6 separate regions of the Homo sapiens genome follow, and all the other regions are linked to region 5. Evidence: promoter capture Hi-C in human tissues and cell types (Jung and others, 2019). All regions are on one chromosome and are shown on one strand. The core of a region is centred on a gene start or on the middle of the fragment in contact, and the rest is flanking DNA. Distances in the headings are between cores, read along the strand shown.

The links. Contacts are between HindIII fragments. The study calls those that stand out against the background at their distance.
Region 1: a fragment that was not itself captured here is called in contact with the fragment with the promoter of CARD14 in region 5 in 1 of the 25 tissues and cell types used here (adrenal gland).
Region 2: a fragment that was not itself captured here is called in contact with the fragment with the promoter of CARD14 in region 5 in 4 of the 25 tissues and cell types used here (adrenal gland, bladder, mesendoderm cells and 1 more).
Region 3: a contact is called between a fragment that was not itself captured here and the fragment with the promoter of CARD14 in region 5, in 5 of the 25 tissues and cell types used here (H1 embryonic stem cells, lymphoblastoid cells, mesenchymal stem cells and 2 more).
Region 4: a contact is called between a fragment that was not itself captured here and the fragment with the promoter of CARD14 in region 5, in 1 of the 25 tissues and cell types used here (mesendoderm cells).
Region 6: a fragment that was not itself captured here is called in contact with the fragment with the promoter of CARD14 in region 5 in 1 of the 25 tissues and cell types used here (small bowel).

Annotation. Positions count from the first base shown.
Region 1 is chr17:80,018,748-80,021,856 of GRCh38, forward strand. All of the region lies in intron 1 of TBC1D16 (TBC1 domain family member 16), which reads right to left. Among named protein-coding and RNA genes, the nearest start is that of TBC1D16, 16 kb to the right of the region's middle. The HindIII fragment of the contact is 5,540 bases long and covers 1-3,109 here.
Region 2 is chr17:80,422,093-80,424,853 of GRCh38, forward strand. It overlaps ENDOV (endonuclease V), which reads left to right. Exons shown (of 10, transcript NM_173627.5): 4 at 114-153; 5 at 1,428-1,540. Among named protein-coding and RNA genes, the nearest start is that of MIR4730, 4.1 kb to the left of the region's middle. The HindIII fragment of the contact is 8,908 bases long and covers 1-2,761 here.
Region 3 is chr17:80,379,040-80,381,998 of GRCh38, forward strand. RNF213 (ring finger protein 213) reads left to right here. Exons shown (of 68, transcript NM_001256071.3): 55 at 581-675; 56 at 1,792-1,948; 57 at 2,508-2,688. All of the region lies in intron 1 of RNF213-AS1 (RNF213 antisense RNA 1), which reads right to left. Among named protein-coding and RNA genes, the nearest start is that of ENDOV, 35 kb to the right of the region's middle. RefSeq lists an enhancer at 1,283-1,783. The HindIII fragment of the contact is 3,872 bases long and covers 1-2,959 here.
Region 4 is chr17:80,340,952-80,344,000 of GRCh38, forward strand. RNF213 (ring finger protein 213) reads left to right here. Exons shown (of 68, transcript NM_001256071.3): 27 at 2,181-2,374; 28 at 2,906-3,049. Among named protein-coding and RNA genes, the nearest start is that of ENDOV, 73 kb to the right of the region's middle. The HindIII fragment of the contact is 5,401 bases long and covers 1-3,049 here.
Region 5 is chr17:80,168,612-80,171,429 of GRCh38, forward strand. CARD14 (caspase recruitment domain family member 14) reads left to right here and starts at 1,419. Exons shown (of 24, transcript NM_001366385.1): 1 at 1,419-1,445. The HindIII fragment of the contact is 21,960 bases long and covers 1-2,818 here.
Region 6 is chr17:80,360,928-80,363,975 of GRCh38, forward strand. RNF213 (ring finger protein 213) reads left to right here. Exons shown (of 68, transcript NM_001256071.3): 39 at 807-961; 40 at 2,175-2,387; 41 at 2,682-2,863. The region is part of intron 1 of RNF213-AS1 (RNF213 antisense RNA 1); the gene reads right to left. Among named protein-coding and RNA genes, the nearest start is that of ENDOV, 53 kb to the right of the region's middle. The HindIII fragment of the contact is 6,097 bases long and covers 1-3,048 here.

The DNA of each region.
Region 1 (3,109 bases), core at 83-2,582, 150 kb before region 5:
ATGCCACCAGGTCCCGCTAATTTTTTTATTTTTTGTAGAGATGAGGTTTCACTTTTTTGCCCAGGCTGGTCTTGAACTTCTGGCCTCAAGTGATCCTCCTGCCTCAGCCTTCCAAAGTGTTAGGATTACAGGCGGGAGCCACCGCACCTGGCCTATTTTATGTCCTTAAAGTCTCCAAAGTCTGCTGTGCATTTTGCACTTAAGCACGTCAAAGTTCTGCTCAGCCACGTTTTGGGTGCTCTGTAGCCTGCGCGGTGTCCACACTGGACAAGGCCGCAGCGGGGCTGGAGCCCACCTCCTTCTGTGTTTCAAATGGCTCTACTCAGTGTGATCGCTCCAGTTGCCAGAGCTGGCTGCACACAGCTCTCAGCTGCTTCCCCAAATCAAAACCCTCTTTAAGTGAAAATGTTTTGCCAGCACTGAGGATAATCAAAAGAATGTGCTGGAAGCTTTAAAGGAGATTCCGAAATACAAGTGTTCAAAATACAGCATTTTCTCCCATACCATGACAGGCAGAACCTCACTGTGGCTCTGCGAGGTGCGTCCCAACAGTGCAGCTTTACGGAGGAGAAGACAGGTTCTGACCACTCAGGGTCATTTCGTGAGCGGGAAACCCTGCAGCGTGAGACCTTCGTCCCCCACGTGCAGAACTCCGGCTCCTCCATCACCCGCCACCTGGGACACCAGGACAACCCCCCCCCGCCCCTCCCAGATTGTTCTGGAGAGACTGGGCTCTTTTTGGAGAAATGGAGCATGTCTATTAAACATTAGACAGGACTGTTTGCTCTCTAAAAACAATTCTCCTTATTTGTAAAGTGCATTTGCTGTTTCGCAAGAGGCTATTTCATCGAAATCCAACCTAGTTCCCAACCTCTGGTCACCAGCAAACTAGAAGTGGAGAATCCTTGGCCCATTTTTTAAAACTTTTTTTTAGTTATGAAACACACTCAGAGAAGGAAAAGGAAGAATACGTGTCCCTTAAATCACATAATCCTAAGACATTTATGTATTCTCTACTATATTTTGTGCCCTATAATGAATGAGTTAATGAAAAACCCACTCCTTGGAATTATATCATATCTTGCTTTCAGTTGGATCATAAATATATTTTCCCAGGTGAAGTATACTTATGATATAACAAACTTTAGGGTTGAAGTACATCCCCTAAAATTCCTGTGTTGAAGTCTTAAACCCCAGTACCCAAGAATGAAACTGTTTTTGAAGACAGCATCTTTATAGAGGTGATCAAGTTACCTTGAGGTCAATATGACTGGTGTCTTTATAAAAAGAGGAAGTTGGTAGCAGGTGCCTATATACAAGGAGAGTGCTGTGTGAATACAATGATGCCACCTACCAGCAAGGAGCAGGCCTGGAGCAGCCCCTCCCTCACAGCCTCCTAAGGAAACAATCCTGCCGACACCTTGATCTTAGACTTCCTGCCTCCAGGGCTGTCAGAGAGATTTCTATTGCTCAAGCCACCTGGACCCTGGTACTTTGTTAGGGCAGCCCTAGCAAACAAATATACCACATTATTAACACATTTAAAAAGTATAAGGCCAGGTGTGGTGGCTCACGCCTGTAATCCCAGCACTTTGGAAGACTGAGGCGGGCGGATCACCTGAGATCAGGAGTTCAAGACCAGCCTGGCCAACATGGTGAAATCCTGTCTCTACTAAAAAATACAAAAATTAGCCAAGCGTAGGGGCGGGTGCCTGTAGTCCCAGCTACTCAGGAGGCTGAGGCAGGAGAACTGCTTGTACTCAGGAGGTGGAGGTTGCAGTGAGCTGAGATGGCGCCACTGCACTCCAGCCTGGGAGACAGAGCGAGACTCCATCTCAAAACAAATAAATAAATAAAAATAAAAATTATAAATGCCAACCCTCCATCTTCATAGAATCAGCCGCCATTGCTAGGCATCTGGCTTCCAACTAGTGGCTACTGAAATAATAAACTCCACATTTTAATACATAAATCTTCATCTGTATCCTCATTATTTCCAGGATTACTGTTTCCCCAGGAGGATAAACTGGACCCCAACTCGTATTGCCCAGTGGGTTCCCCGAAATGTAAGAGTGCTGCCAGGGATTTAAATCTCCACCAGGCTGGGAACTGAAAAATGGTTTTCTGACTGGGCACAGTGGTTCACACTTGTAATTCCAACAATTTGGGAGGCTGACGTGGGAGGATTGCTCAAGCCCAGGAGCTCAAAACCAGCCTGGGCAGGGCCGGGCACGGTGGCTCACGCCTGTAATCCCAGCACTTTGGGAGGCCAAGGCGGGTGGATCACCTGAGGTCGGGAGTTCGACACCAGCCTGACCAACATGGAGAAACCCCGTGTCTACTAAAAATACAAAATTAGACAGGCATGGTGGTGCATGCCTGTAATCCCAGCTACTCGGGAGGCTGAAGCATGAGAATCGCTTGAACTCAGGTGGTGGAGGTTGCAGTGAGCCGAGATCGTGCCATTGCACTCCAGCCTGGAAACAAGAGTGAAACTCCATCTCAAAAAACAAAAACAAACAAACAAACCAGCCTGGGCAACATAACAAGATCCCACTTCTAAAAAATTAGCTGGGGGTGGTGGTGTGTGCCTGTAATCCCAGCTACTCGGGAGGCTAAGGTGGATCACTTGAGCCCAGGACGTCGAGGCTGCATTGAGCCATGATTGCACCACTGCACCCCACCCTGGGTGACAGATTATCCTATATTTATTAGACATTTGTGTTCACTTGTGAATTATCTGTTGGTGTGCTTTGACAATTTTTCTGCTGGCGTGGTGGAATTCTTATTATTTTTAATACAGAGATTAAGCTGAGATGGAATTTTCATTGATATGTAAGAACTCTTTATATAGTAAAGATCACTACATACACACCATAGACACACACCATAGATACATACATCACGCACCACATACCATAGGCACACACCATAGGCACACTGCATAAACATCACAGACACACACACCACACACCACAGACACACACACTGCACACACCATAGACACATCACACACACAACCCCATAGGCACACACCACACTCTACACACACACCATAGACACACACATCCACCACAGATGCACACATACCATGACACACCCAGGCACA
Region 2 (2,761 bases), core at 16-2,515, 250 kb after region 5:
TTTCTAAAAAGCTGGACCCCAGAGACAGTGCCCCCTTCTTGCCTCAGGGATGGCCCTGTCCTGAGGGCCGAGGGGCAGCTCAGCTGACTGTGACTCTCCCTGTGGCTCCATAGGTCCTTCTTGTGGATGGAAACGGGGTACTCCACCACCGAGGTAATCCTGCTCTTGGAGGTCCAGGGAGGGCACTGTGGGGAAGAGCGGGGGGAGAGGGCACCTCTGTCGTCCCCCACAGAAAATGCTGGGCCCTCGGCCTCTGCCGCCAGCCCCCTCCAATGGCTTCTTTCTCGGCGCAACGGGGACGCGCAGTGCGCTCAGCCCCGCCTCCCCCACCGCCGGTAAAGGACTGTCTACTTTCGCTTCACCCCTTACCTCTTTCCTGTCCGCCACTGCCTTCTCTACAGTGCCCTGTGCTGGCTCATCTCCAGGTGCCACTATCCAGTTCTGACCTGATCACCAAAAGATGTCCCAGGGCCCGGGCTCAGAGTGGCCTTCCCTGCCAGCCGCCCAACCTGCATGGCCCGTCAGGCCCCTTGTCCACAACTAGACAGGTGTACCCAGGCCCCCACTGATGCCAGGAACCTTGGCCTAGGGAGCGTGGCTGAGGGAGATGGGCTCTTTTTTTTTTGAGACGGAGTCTCGCTCTGTCGCCCAGGCTGGAGTGCAGTGGCGCGATCTCGGCTCACTGCAACCTCCGCCTCCCGGGTTCATGCCACTCTCCTGCCTCAGCCTCCTGAGTAGCTGAGACTACAGGTGCCCATCACCACGCCCGGCTAATTTTTTTGTATTTTTAGGAGAGACGGGGTTTCACGTGTTAGCCAGGATGGTCTTGATCTCCTGACCTCGTGATCCGCCTGCCTCGGCCTCCCAAAGTGCTGGGATTTCAGGCGTGAGCCACCGCGCCCGGCCTAGGGAGATGGGCTCTTTTACTGTTACATACAGAGCTGCGGGCGGCGCAGCAGCACCCAGAGAGGGCCCAGGAGGGGTGACATTGGGCCTTCCTGGCCAGCAAGTGTGACTCGGCCCTGGCTGCTGCCCTCGCACATGGGTGCAGAGCCAAAGGGTTGTCATGTGCCGACCCACATGCTCGTGCCAGCGCTGGCAGGCCACCGTCGAGGGAAGAGGAAGCTGGGAGGTGCAGGAAATGACCGGAGAGCTGCAGTATCCCAGCACGCCAGCGAGGTGCTGACCCTGGCACTGACCGTGTCAGAGAGAAGGAGGCTTCCTCCACGGCCTTGCACCCAGGACATCGGGCACAGGGGGCTTTCGCCCAGGTCTGCTTGGGACTTAGATCTGGTTTCCCCAGCCCTCTGCCTGTCCACAGACCTCTGCTCACTTAGGGAAGCTTTTGGTAAGACTGGCTTGTCCTGAATCCCTGTGCCAGGCCCCAGCCCCACCTCCCCAACCCCACCCTCCTTTCTCTCTGGCAGGCTTTGGGGTGGCCTGCCACCTTGGCGTCCTTACAGACCTGCCGTGTGTTGGGGTGGCCAAGAAACTTCTGCAGGTGGATGGGCTGGAGAACAACGCCCTGCACAAGGAGAAGGTGAGGAGGGGCCTGCTGCAGGCCATGCCCGGCAGCTCAGTGGCGGGGCTGTGGTGGCCCTGGGCATGAGGACACTTCTGGACCAGCCCTTGCCTGCTGACGCTGCCCTCCTCATCCCTGGCTTGTGGCCTGGAGTAAGAAAGACCTGCTTTCCTCTGGGTGCTGCATTGCCTGTCTCAGCTGAGGGCGCTCTGAGCTCCTCTCCTGCCTCCTGGGTGTGCCTGCCTCTCTGGTCCCCCTTGCCTCTGAGCCACCGTGGCACACCAAGTAGGGCTAAGTCCTCCAGTTACTGGGGACAGGACGGGCTTCCAGGCTGTCCCGGGCGCACTTGGTGCTTTCCCCACCCCGCCTTGCCCCAGCCCCTGTCTCCTCCCCTGCATGCTCAGGTACCACAGCCTCCAGGCCCCCCTCCCGCCAAGACCTGCCTGGAGCTGCCACCCACACTCTTCCTACCTCACCTTCCCCTGCATCTTCCTCCTCTGGGACCCCATGTTGGCACTGGGAGTGAGACACTCACAATGGAGGGAGCTGTTGACACCCCCAGCTGTTTCACTGGATGGCAGATTCTGAGAGCAGAGACTGTGTCTCTCATTCCTCCTAGCTCTCAGGTGCCTGCATGGAGAAGTTGCTTAATAAAAATCTGTTGAGTTGATGGGGACCTTAGACCCACTCAATGAGCCAGTCCACCGCCGCCAGAAATACCAGCCTGTTGAGCTGTGTCAGATGTGCCCAAAGCAGGAGAGAAGCCACAGGAAGGAAGCGGGCTCAGCACCCATCACTGGGCAGTGGCGGCACCTGTGTGGCTGCCAGCCTGGCACAGCGGCCCTGGGCAGATTGTTGCCCTTGTTCTAAGCCCCATCATCAGGTTTGAACAGGGTCTTGTGGGCAGCACCCTCAGCTCAGGGACAAGACCACTTCACCGCCTGCACGCTCAGTGTCGTCTCAGGTGGTGTGGCTTTGCCTGGGCTGTGGCTCACCTCCAAGATCAGTCCCCTTCCCTTTCCTGGCCCAGTGACTGGGTTTTAAAAATAAAGAGACCTGGGCCGGTTGCGGTGGCTCACTCCTGTAATCCCAGCACTTTGGGAGGCCGAAGTGGGTGGATCACGCGATTAGGAGATCGAGACCATCCTGGCTAGCATGGTGAAACCCCATCTCTACTAAAAATACAAAAAATTAGCCGGGCGTGGTGGCACATGCCTGTAGTCCCAGCTACTCAGGAGG
Region 3 (2,959 bases), core at 140-2,639, 210 kb after region 5:
GTGGTGCATGCGTGCATGCGTGCATGCGTGTGGTCCCAGCTACTTGGGAGGCTAAGGTAGGAGGATTGCTTGAGCCTGGGGAGGTCAAGGCTGTAGTGAGCCGTGATGGTGCCACTGCACTCCAGCCTGGAGGACAGAGCGAGGCTCTGTCTCATAAAAATTGATATATGAAAAAGTCCAAATGAATATAAGGAAGTCAGTTTGGAAGCTCTTCTAGTATTCTTGGTATTAGATCATGAAGTGCCACAGGCTAGTGTGATAGATGGAGGGATGGAAAAAGTGCTGAATACAAGAAAGGAAGGTTGAATTTTATATATTTGTCTATAAAGTGTCACTCTGGGAATAAAGCTTAAATTGTCTCACTTATTTAAAAAACAGTTCCAGTTTGCCCACGTGCAACATTAGTGAGTACCTACCCTGTTCCCATGGGTTCTCCACCCACCCGAAACAAGCACACACTGGGACAATCTGAGGGTGCTCACGTCTGCCGGTGATAAGGAGGTGTTCATTTGCATGATGGCATTTGTGCATAAAATGGTACTGCTCCAGAAGTGGTTCTAGTGCCCTGTCTTCACCCTAGTGTGGCAGGCCGATGGAACAGAGCATCTGCATTGACTGCCATGCGCCGATTGGAGGCATTGACCACAAACCTCGGGACGGCTTTCATCTGGTCAAGTATGTGGGTCAGGATTCTATTTCCTAAGTACTCAAACTTTGGGGTGTTGGGCTGTTTTTATTCCAGCTGATAAAGTGATACTCAAGATAGTACTAATTACTCCAGTACATGTGGGCCTGTGTCATATTGAATAGCAATGCCAAAGTCCCAGCAGTCACACAGCAGGGAGGCATCTGATCTGTTGTTGGATCCCTGGGCCCTGAAATGCAAAGCAGGCTACCCTTTAACAGCTGTTAATATGAATACAGGTGTCTTCCTTTTGGGCCTTGGGTGCACCTTCTGTAGAAATATGCATGACATAAACAGATGATCTAATTCACGAGGACATCTATGTCTGCAGGACCAAAACCTGGGCATCCGTCTGTCTCAGCAGATGCCATCTCACTTGCCAGCAATCTTAGCTTTCTCCATTTTTTATTTTTTGAGAAAAATGAAGGAGACAGACATAGTCTTATGAAATACCAGACTTCAGAATCCAGGTACAAATCCGATCCCACAATCCCATGCTGAGATGAATGTGGTTCTAAATGCTCCTTTCAGAGAGTGAGTGGGACCTGCGTGGGGGCCTCACATTCTGACTGTTCCCTGCAGTCACAGCTTAAAATACTTTCATGTTATCTCCAGAAACTGTCACAGTGTCCTCCATCCTCTAATAGTTTTGCCACTGAGAGCATCGGCCACACTGCATCTCCTCTCTGCCGGACTTTAGATCCCGGTTTTTCCTTTGGGGAGATGAGAACAATATGGACACCCATGGGATGCCGACTGTCCTCCCAAACTCTAGCTGTTCTTAGCCCAACCGCTCCTCTCCTGACAAAGACTTCAGTGGAAAAGACGGGTCCAGGCCTGCGTCTTAACACCCTGCCCGGGGATCAGCATCAATACCACACAGCGCAGCCACCTGACGCTGAGAATGCGGTCGGGTCTGGTCCACCGGAAAGGCGAGTCTATCATGAGAGAGACTCTTAGGAACATGGTCCAGGCTTTGTGGAACAGCAAGTACTCTTCACATAACTCTCTTCTCAGCCGTAAGCCTCACTCCAAGTGCTGAGAAAGTGCAGCGTGCCAAAGCGGCCAGCCTCAGCCTCTGTCTTGTGTTCTCTCGTTCTTTCCAGAGACAAGGCAGACAGAACGCAGACCGGCCACGTGCTGGGCAACCCGCAGCGGAGAGACGTGGTGACATGTGACCGAGGGCTGCCCCCAGTGGTCTTCCTCCTTATCCGGCTACTCACTCACTTGGCTCTGCTTCTGGGAGCGTCCCAGAGTTCCCAGGTATAACCCAGTGCTGCCAAACAATGGGCTCAGTTAAGAACCTGCTTTCGCTTCTTCCCAGGGAGTCCTTTTGTCTTGAGTCCTAGCTGCCATCTATGCGTTTTGGAGATAATTAGTCTACAAAGTAATATACAAGTTATACATCTTCATGTTTCCCCCTGTGGCGTATGATGGTATGGGGGGAACTACTCCCCAGATTATACAGAATCCACTTCAAATTAACACTCTGTGTCTCTGGTCCACATCTGGGAGTAGAGAGGCTGACATCTTCATTATTTTACCTGTGTCTTCATTGTAGCTAGGGAAGAAAGAGCACACTGCATAACCAAGATGGCCAACAGTACAATCTGGATATTCTTTATCTCACTGTAACAACAGAAAAGCCAGCAGCCGTTCCGCTTGCTAGCCTTCCTTTCACCTGGATCACTCCGCCGTTTTCATCTTAGAAACCGCCTTCCGACTCTATGCTGGTGCTCCACTCCCAATGGCCTCTACCAGGCTCACCATCTTCTCTACAAACCAGATCCCCGCTGAACACTCTGTTCCGTTGCCCCCACAGGCTCTGATAAACATCATTAAGCCTCCAGTGAGGGATCCAAAAGGCTTTCTGCAGCAGCACATCCTGAAGGACCTGGAGCAGTTGGCCAAGATGCTGGGACACAGTGCCGACGAGACCATCGGCGTGGTCCACCTCGTCCTGCGCAGGCTTCTCCAAGAGCAGCACCAGCTCTCTAGCAGAAGTGAGGAAAGGGGCAAGGGCTGGGCGGGGATCACACAGCACAACGGCAGCGCAAGCAGGCTCGCTGTCTTGTGGGCCACCCCACACACAGCCAGTCTGAGCTCTGTCTGTGCTGTTGCTGGAAAGAATGAGAGAACACACAGAGAGAAAACCGTGTCTAGGGAAGGCGATGCCTGGGGCTGGAAAAAGGAAGCACTCTGCTTGCCCAGAGGCTGGAAGGAGCTGCTCTGTTCCCTCCATTCACCCCTGCCTGGCTAAGACCTGCGGTATTC
Region 4 (3,049 bases), core at 479-2,978, 170 kb after region 5:
GCACCAGTACACCCAGCTAATTTTTTTATTTTTAGTAGAGATGTGGCTTCACCGTGTTAGCCAGGATGGTCTCGATCTCCTGACCTCATGATCTGCCCTCCTCGGCCTCCCAAAGTACTGGGATCACAGGCATGAGCCACCGTGCCCGGCCTAATTTTTGTATTTTTAGCAGAGACAGGGTTTCACCATGTTGGCCAGTCTGGTCTCAAACTCCTGACCTCAGGTGATCCGCCCACCTCAGCCTCCCAAAGTGCTGGGATTACAGGTGTGAGCCACCACGCCCGGCCTGAAGTTTACTTCTTCTGCCCTTAAATGCCACTGGCCTCTTTGGGGTTGATGTTGGTCGTGTGAGCAAGGGGAGGTAGAATTGAAGAGAAAGCCATGCCTCTTGACCCACCCTTCGTTTGCCATCTTGTTTCCCTTAAAAAGAAATAGTAGCTTCTGTTCTGTTGACTTTATCCTATCAACAGTACCTCGTCCTGTTGGGATAAACATTACTCTTCCCCTCCCTGCTGAAGCCTCTCCTTTTGCTGTGACTTTTATTAGCTAGTCACTCAACACATAATGACATTTCAGTCAACAGCAGACCACGTATATGACCACGGTCCCATAAGATTAGAAAACTGTACTTTAAAAATTAGCCAGGCATGGTGGTGCATGCCTGTGATCCCAGCTACTAGGAAGGCTGACTTGGGAGGATCGCTCCAGCCCAAGAGGTCGAGGCTGTGGTGAGCTGCAAATACGACACTGCACTCCAGCCTAGGCAACGGGGCAAGGCCTTGGTCTTTTAAAAAAAGAGAAAGAAAGAAAGAACAAAAGATTATAATACCATATTTTTTACTGTACCTTTTCTACATTTTTATTTTTATTTTTGAGATGGAGTCTCACTCTGTTGCCCAGGCTGGAGTGCAATGGCACGATCTCGGCTCACTGCAGCCTCTGCCTCCTGGGTTCAAGCGATTCTCCTGCCTCAGCCTCCTGAGTAGCTGGGACTACAGGCACACGCCACCACACCTGACTAGTTTTTAGTAGAGATGGGGTTTCACCATGTTGGCCAGGCTGGTCTCAAACTCCTGACCTTGAGTGATCACCCGCCTCAGCCTCCCAAAGTGCTGGGATTACAGGCCTGAGCCACCGTGCCTGGCCTGAATATGTTTAGATATTCAGATATTTGCCCCGTGTCACAGCTCCCCACTGTATGTAGGATGCCCCCATGCTGTCACGGCTTGCAGCCCAGGGGCAATGGGCTATTCCACCTAGCTCGGGTGTGTGGTCGGCTCTACCATCTGGGTTTCTGCAGGCACACTCTGATGTTCACAGTGACAGAATCATTTCACAATGCATTTTTCAGAACGTGTCCCTAGTGCTAAGTGGCGCGGGACTCTGCTTTGCCTGCTGTCCTGCGGAGGCAGGAGGTGACCAGGAGAGTGAGTAGGTAACGGCTGGGAAATGTGAAGGTTCAAGAGCGTATTCTTGAATCTGATGTTATGTTGCATCAGTTTTGAATTTTATACAAAGAGAAGTAACTTCTAGTGGATCTTTATAGATTCTCTTACTCTTTGTCCTAGCCCTGGGACTTAATTTTTCTCTCTCTCTCTCTCTCTATTTTTATATATATACACACACATGCTGTATATACATACACTATATATATTCGATACATATTCTATATAGATTTCTATATATATTCTATATATTTTTACATATATAATATATATTCTATATACTTCCATATATACTATATATATTCTATATATACATATATAGTATGTATATATATATTATATATATATTGTATGTATATATATATTATATATATATATTTTTTGAGACAGAGTTTCGCTCTGTCACCCTAACGATGACAACTGCACCCTAAGGGATGTCTTAAGGGATGCCCAGGCTGGAGTGTAGTGGTGCAATCTCAGCTCACTACAACCTCCGCCTCCCGGGTTCAAGCGATTCTCCTGCCTCAGCCTCCTGAGTAGCTGGGATTACAGGTGCCTGCCACCACGCCTGGCTAATTTTTTTGTATTTTTAGTAGGGACGGGATTTCACCACGTTGACCAGGCTGGCTTTGAACTCCTGACCTCAAGTGATCCCCCCGCCTCGGCCTCCCAAAGTGCTAGGATTACAGGTGTGAGCCACCACTCCCAGCCCTAATTTCTGTATTAATGTTATAGGAAAGTCTCTGTACGTGAAGAGGTTGCACGACAAAATGAAGATGCAGTTAAACGTGAAAAATGTGCCTCTGAAAACAATTCGACTGATCGACCCTCAGGTGGATGAGAGCCGAGTCCTGGGCGCCCTGCTGCCCTTCCTGGATGCGCAGTATCAGAAGGTCCCCGTGCTCTTTCACCTGGACGTGACCTCCTCAGTAAGTGCCCTCCAGCGTCAGCCGATGGCCACATCAGTAAAGACGTGGTCCCCATGTCTCTGCGTGACTCCTCCCCGTGTATAGAATTCCTTGTTTCCACACGCACAGTCCTGTGAAGCTTAACAGTGGGAATGTGCTCTGAGAAGTGTGTTGTCAGGCAGTTTCCTCCTTGTGTGAACGTCATGGTGTGCGCTTACACTAACCTAGACGTAGAGCCCACTGCACACACAGGCTTTATGGTACACACTGTCGCTCCTAGGCCGCAAACCTGTGCTGCATATGGCTGTTCTGAATCCTGGAGCCAATTGTAAAACGGTGTATTTATGTGTCTAAACATAAAAATGGTACAGGGAAATATAGTATTAGGATTTTATGGGGCTGCCCTTGGAGACATGGGCCGTTGTTGGCTGAAATGTTGATGTTGATCATCAGGATCATCGTGACAAAGAGCAAAATAAGGAGGGGTTACTTAGAGTTGGGAGAACTCGCCATCGTGTCGTGTGTTTACACCTCGTGCGATTCTGTTCTTAGGTGCAGACTGGAATTTGGGTGTTTCTTTTCAAGCTCCTCATTTTACAATACTTAATGGATATAAATGGGAAAATGTGGCTTCGGAACCCCTGCCATTTGTATATCGTTGAAATCCTGGAAAGGAGGACGTCAGTGCCGTCGAGG
Region 5 (2,818 bases), core at 169-2,668:
AGGAAACTAAGAGAGCTGAGCCTTAGGGGCTTAAATGAACTGCCTGAGGGGAAGCTGACACCCAGTGGGGCTGTAACCCTGGTTGGAGAGTTCATGTCTGCACCTGGCCTCGGCCTGCGTTCTCACTTGCTCTGCCCAACTGGCTGTGCCTTCAGCCGGCTCATCACCAGGAGATTTGGGTTGGAGCTACTGCTCAGCCACCATGAGCTACATGACCTTGAAGGCCGATCTTTGATTGTCCGCAGGATAATCCTGAAGGTTCTCAGGCCATGGACCTGTGAATTTCCCTTCTTTCAGTGTCTGCATCATTGGGAACCAAGCCCCTAACCAATGTTTATTCATTCGCTCAACCAATATTTGTGGAATATCACAGCCCTAGGGGTGGGGACACAGCAGGGAACAAGAAAGACAAGAATTATTGTCCTCAGTAGGTTACTGTGGAGTGGGGAGGCTGGCAGGAAGCCACGTAACTAGAATACACGTTAGGTCAAGGCAGTATTCCCACAGAGAAGATGGAACAGGGAAGGGGAGTGAAGGCCAGGATGGGAGGTCTACGGACTTAAGTAGGATGATCTGGGAAGTAGCATTTGAGTAGAGTCTGGAAGGAGGGATGGGAAAGAGTGTTCCAGGCAGTGGGAACAGCAGGTGCAAAGGCCCTGGGGCAGAAGTGTGCCTGGACTGTCAAGACTGTTGGGCTGTGTGTCTGGAGCAGGTAAAAGAGAGATAAGGTCAGCAAGGACCTGATAAGCAGAGCCTCATGGTCACGCTGAGGACTCCAGGACCTGTACACCGAAGGGAATGACAGGAGCTGACTCATGCCCTAGCAGGACTTCTCTGTCTGCTGTGTTGAGCGCTGGTGATGGGGGCGTGGGAAGAAGTTAGGAGCCATTACAGAGGTCCCGGTGGGCCATGATCAGGACACCACAATGCAGGTGGTGAGAATGGATCGGATTCTAGACATATCTCAAGGTGGAGGACCAAGACTTTCATCTAAATCTAAACAATAGTTATGAAATGTTAACTTGAGATGGATCTATTGGAATTATTCAGATACTTCCAATAATGGATCATGAGAACCAAGAAAGGCCCTAGAATTTATCCTGATCTTCGTAGGATTTTCCCAAGGGTAGAAATGATGATGAACTGGGTGACCGTTCACAAAGGAGAGAGGATTCCCAGCCCCCAAGCCTGAAGCCTTCCCCTCAATCACCCTCAATCACCATCTTCTGTGGGTCGACCAGATGCACGGACTGTTCTCAGCCATCCCTGTGGTTCTTACGGCAATGTCTAGCTGTGGGACTGCACTGGTGCTTCGATGGCTCATAGAAGCCCCATATAAGGCACTGCTCCTGTGGGATGTGCCTGTCAAACCTGCTTGTCCACTGCCGTTCAGTTCAGCCAGAGATTGGGCCACATTCAGTCCTCGCTTCCCTGGGAGGGGGAAGGTAAGTGCGCGCAGTCCATCCGGCGAAGAGCAGGTCAGCCTACGGAGGGCTCAGCCTACGGAGGGGCTCAGCCGACACAGGTCTGATGGGGCCCGAGAGTGGTCCCAGGGGAGTGGGAGGGGCCGGCATCTTCCTCATCAGGAGTGGAGGAGCTGCCTTGTATGTGGACTAGAGAACAGAAAACGGCTTGTCTGTGTTGCTGGGTCAATCACTGGAACATTCTCTGAATGCTGAGTTCTGCCTTAAAACAGCATGGGTCATGCTAGATGAAAGGGATCTCTGTTTTATACTCTCATCTCTTCGCTATTGCCGTGGGATGAAAGACAGCAGAAGGAAGGTGTCTAAGTTCAGAACAAAGTGAGCAAGACCAGCTGGCTGCTGTTGGTAGCAGAGGCACAGCCAGCCTGTCATGGCACTGGGGGGCCGAGGTGAGCTGTGCCCCCTCCTCCTGGGCTTGTGACCCTCTGCCCCCCATGGGGTATGTACATGTGTGTGTGTGCGTGTGCGTGTGTGTATGTGTACATGCCTTCTTCCCTACTTCACTGGCAAGGGAAGAGACTGACACTTGGGTTAGGAGAAGGATGTTGACCTGGGAGGGGTCAAATAAGGAGAACCCACATCTTAGATGCTCAGGATTTTATGATCTTAGGCTCTTCTAGAATTGCTGTACAGTTAGATTCAGAGTTTGGAATTAGAGATCTCTGGGCCCTCCCCTCCCCTCCCGTCCCCTCCCCTCCCGTCCCCTCCCCTCCTCTCCCCTCCCCTCCTCTCCCCTCTCCTCCCCTCCCCTCTTCTCTCCTTTTTCAGAAGTCTCCCTCTGTCGCCCAGGCTAGAGTTGCAGTGGCACAATCTCGGCTCACTGCAATTTCTGCCTCCTGGGTTCAGGTGATTCTCCTGCCTCAGTCTCCCAAGTAGCTGGGACTATAGGTGCACGCCACCACACCTGGTTAATTTTTTTATTTTTAGTAGAGACAGGGTTTTGTCACGTTGGCTAGGCTGGTCTCAAACTCCTGACTTCAGGTAATCCGCCCATCTTGGTCTCCCAAAGTGCTGGGATTACGGGCGTGAGCCACGGCTCCTGGCGCCTTCCCATTCACCTTCCCCTTCCCCTCCCCTTCCTCCCTCCCTCCCTCCCTCCCTCCCTCCCTCCCTTCCTTCCTTCCTTCCTTCCTTCCTTCCTTCCTTCCTTCTCTCTCTCCTTCCCTTCCTTCCTCTCTCTTTCTTTTCTTCTTTTCTTTCTTTCTTTCTCTCTCTCTCTCTTTCTTTCTTTTCCTTTTTTTGAGCCAGGGTCTTGCTCTGTCACCCAGGCTGGAGGGCAGTGGCACAATCATAGCTCACTGCAGCCTTGAACTCTTGAGCTCAAGCAATCCTCC
Region 6 (3,048 bases), core at 34-2,533, 190 kb after region 5:
ATACCCCAACTGACCCTGCTTTTCTATGACAGCATGCGAATTAGGGGCTGCACCCCGCCCACTAGAAGCCAGATCTTTCTGGCTTGCATGCTCTGTGACCCCCAGCCCCTGAAGAGCAGCCCACTTGTTCCTAATTTACTTGGACCCGGGGGTTCCTGAAGCATGCTGTGACCTGTAGCCATGCAACATACAATGTAGCCATGCAACATACAACTCAGTCTTATCTAGATGTTTCTCTTTGGGGCTAGCTTGGCTGTTTCTGACCTAAATTTGACACTGTTTCCGCCTTCCTTTATTTTATTCCACTGGAAAAATATCCTAGGCCAGGCGCAGTGGTTCACAACACCTTGGGAGGCCAAGGCCGGCAGATCACCTGAGGTCAGGAGTTCGAGACCAGCCTGACCAACATGGTGAAACCCCGTCTCTACTAAAAATACAAAAAATTAGCTGGGTGTGGTGGTGCATGCCTGTAGTCCCAGCTACTTGGTAGGCTGAGGCAGGAGAATCACTTGAACCTGGGAGGCGGAGGTTGCAGTGAGCAGAGATCACGCTACCCACCGCACTCCAGCCTGGGCAACAGAGTAAGACTCCATCTCCAAAAAAAAGGAAAAAGAAAAATATCCTAAATGTCTAGACAGTGACTATTCCTTCAATTCCCTACAAAATCAGGCAGTTGGTACCCCTTTGTCTACGAGCTCCCATTCAACAAGGCGTCCCCATTCCCCTTCACTCCGGAGCCCCCTGGAGGCAGGGGAGCGCCATGACTTAGACGCACTCCAGGCCGCTCCTTGGTTTCCTCTCTGCAGGACTGCCCAAGAAGTTCGTGGACATCTTTCAGCAGACTCCTCTGGGCAGGTTTCTTGCCCAGCTCCATGGAGAGCCGCAGCAGGAACTTCTTCAGTGTTACTTGAAGGATTTCATTCTCTTGACCATGCGTGTGTCAACGGAGGAGGAATTAAAGGTAGATGTTTAGATACTGGCTAAGGGTCAGGTGTAGAGCTTGCATGATGGGGACTGGATGCAGACACGGAGACGTTTCCTCAGCTGCCTGGAGCTGGTGCTGTGAAGTCTGGGAACAGAACATGGTCAGCGAAGGGTGCCGGTGGGTGAAGGGGTCGCCCAGTCTCCTCTCAATATTCAGTGCTACACCCTCAGTCCACCGCCCAGGGGCTCCTAAAACACGGAGCTTTCTGTGAACATGAGAAGACCTCCAATTTCCTTGACATAGCTTCTTTTTAAATGTTGAGTTTCTCTTGAAAAAAATTAAATACGTAACTAACCCTACAGGGTAAGAATAAACAAGTGAAATTCAATAGAAAGTCATACTTTTGACTACCTAAAAATTTTAAACTTCAGTACATAAAAAAGGAGAGTGACAAATTTAAGAACATCCTTACAGCTAATATGACTAGAGGTTAATATTCTTAGGAATCAATAAGAAAATACCCTAAGTTTTAAAAAATGGGTAAACGTTATAAAACAACAATTTTATAATCTCATTAAGCATATCAACATCCAGGAAACATTTGAAAAATTGCTTAGCCTTACTATTAATAGCAAATCAACACAACAGTTTTTAGATATCATGTTTACGTATTCATTTTGCAAAGCTGATTTTTAAAAACAACAGCCGCCGGCCAGTGCTGCAAAGAAATAGCCAGGCCACGCGGCTGACAGTGTAGCGTGCACAGTGGGCGCCCTGCAGGGCTGCGTGGCAGAACAGTTGAGCACCTTATCCGATCTGAACTGCTGACTCTGTCCTGAGGAAACTACTGGAGATGTGGACAAATATTTGGTTCACAGGGATGTCCTTTTCAGCTTTGCTTCGAAAAATAAGAAATAGTTTAATTGTCCGGAAATACAGGATGGGCAAATTAAAGTATGGCCGTATGATGGGTTATTGAGCAGCCATTAAAACCATGTTTTTCAAGTATACTCAGTCATAGGGAAAGTTCATGATGTCATGTTCAGTGGCAAAAAGCCCAGACGACACGGTGACCTTAACGTGGGAGGAGAGGCAGATAGAAAACTGGACAGAAGCAAACGGGACAGAATAGCACACATGGTTTCTAATTTCCTCTTTTATGGTTTTCCAATAGTTCGGATTTCCCACGGGGAAAACATACCATTTTTGTAATTTAAAAATATATTCTAAAAGCTTTTTTGAATCCCAGTTTCTGCAGATGGCTCTGTGGTCCTGCACTAGGAAACTGAAAGCGGCGTCAGAAGCGCCCGAGGAAGAGGTTTCCTTACCGTGGGTGCACCTTGCCTACCAGCGTTTCAGAAGCCGTCTGCAGAACTTTTCCAGAATCCTGACCATCTACCCTCAGGTTCTCCACAGCCTGATGGAAGCCCGTTGGAACCATGAGCTGGCTGGATGTGAGATGGTATGGCCCTCCTCCGCCTGCCCTGAGCAAGCCTTGTGGTGCTTCCAACTCCACTCTGGGAATGGAGAGCTTCTGGGGCTGTGTTCCAAGTGGGAGATTTCTTCACAAGGCACATACCTTAGCTGAATTCAGAGATGTTAAGGACACATCTCGCTGACGCTTCTCACATCCTAGACAATGAAAGTTTAGGTCGCAAGCCTGGGACACAAGTATACATGCAGCTAACAGCCGGGGCCTCTGGTGGGCCGGTGGGAGGGGCACCGCTCAGCCACGCCCTGCTGTCCGTCTCCCCAGACCCTGGACGCATTTGCCGCAATGGCCTGCACGGAGATGCTGACAAGAAACACCCTGAAGCCCAGTCCCCAGGCGTGGCTACAGTTGGTGAAGAATCTTTCCATGCCGCTGGAGCTCATCTGCTCCGATGAGCACATGCAAGGCAGCGGGAGCCTGGCCCAGGCTGTCATCAGGGAAGTCAGGTGAGACCCAGGAGCCCTCACCCACTGCTTCATCTGGCGCGCGCTCACCAGGAGCCTGCCAAGTGCCAGGCATGTCCATGAGAAGACGGGCAGGTGCTCCTGCCATGGGAGGGGCTCCGTCCTCACCCGTTCACTCCGCATTTGCCGAACCCTTAGTGAGTGCCAGGCGTCTCATTAGGGTGCTG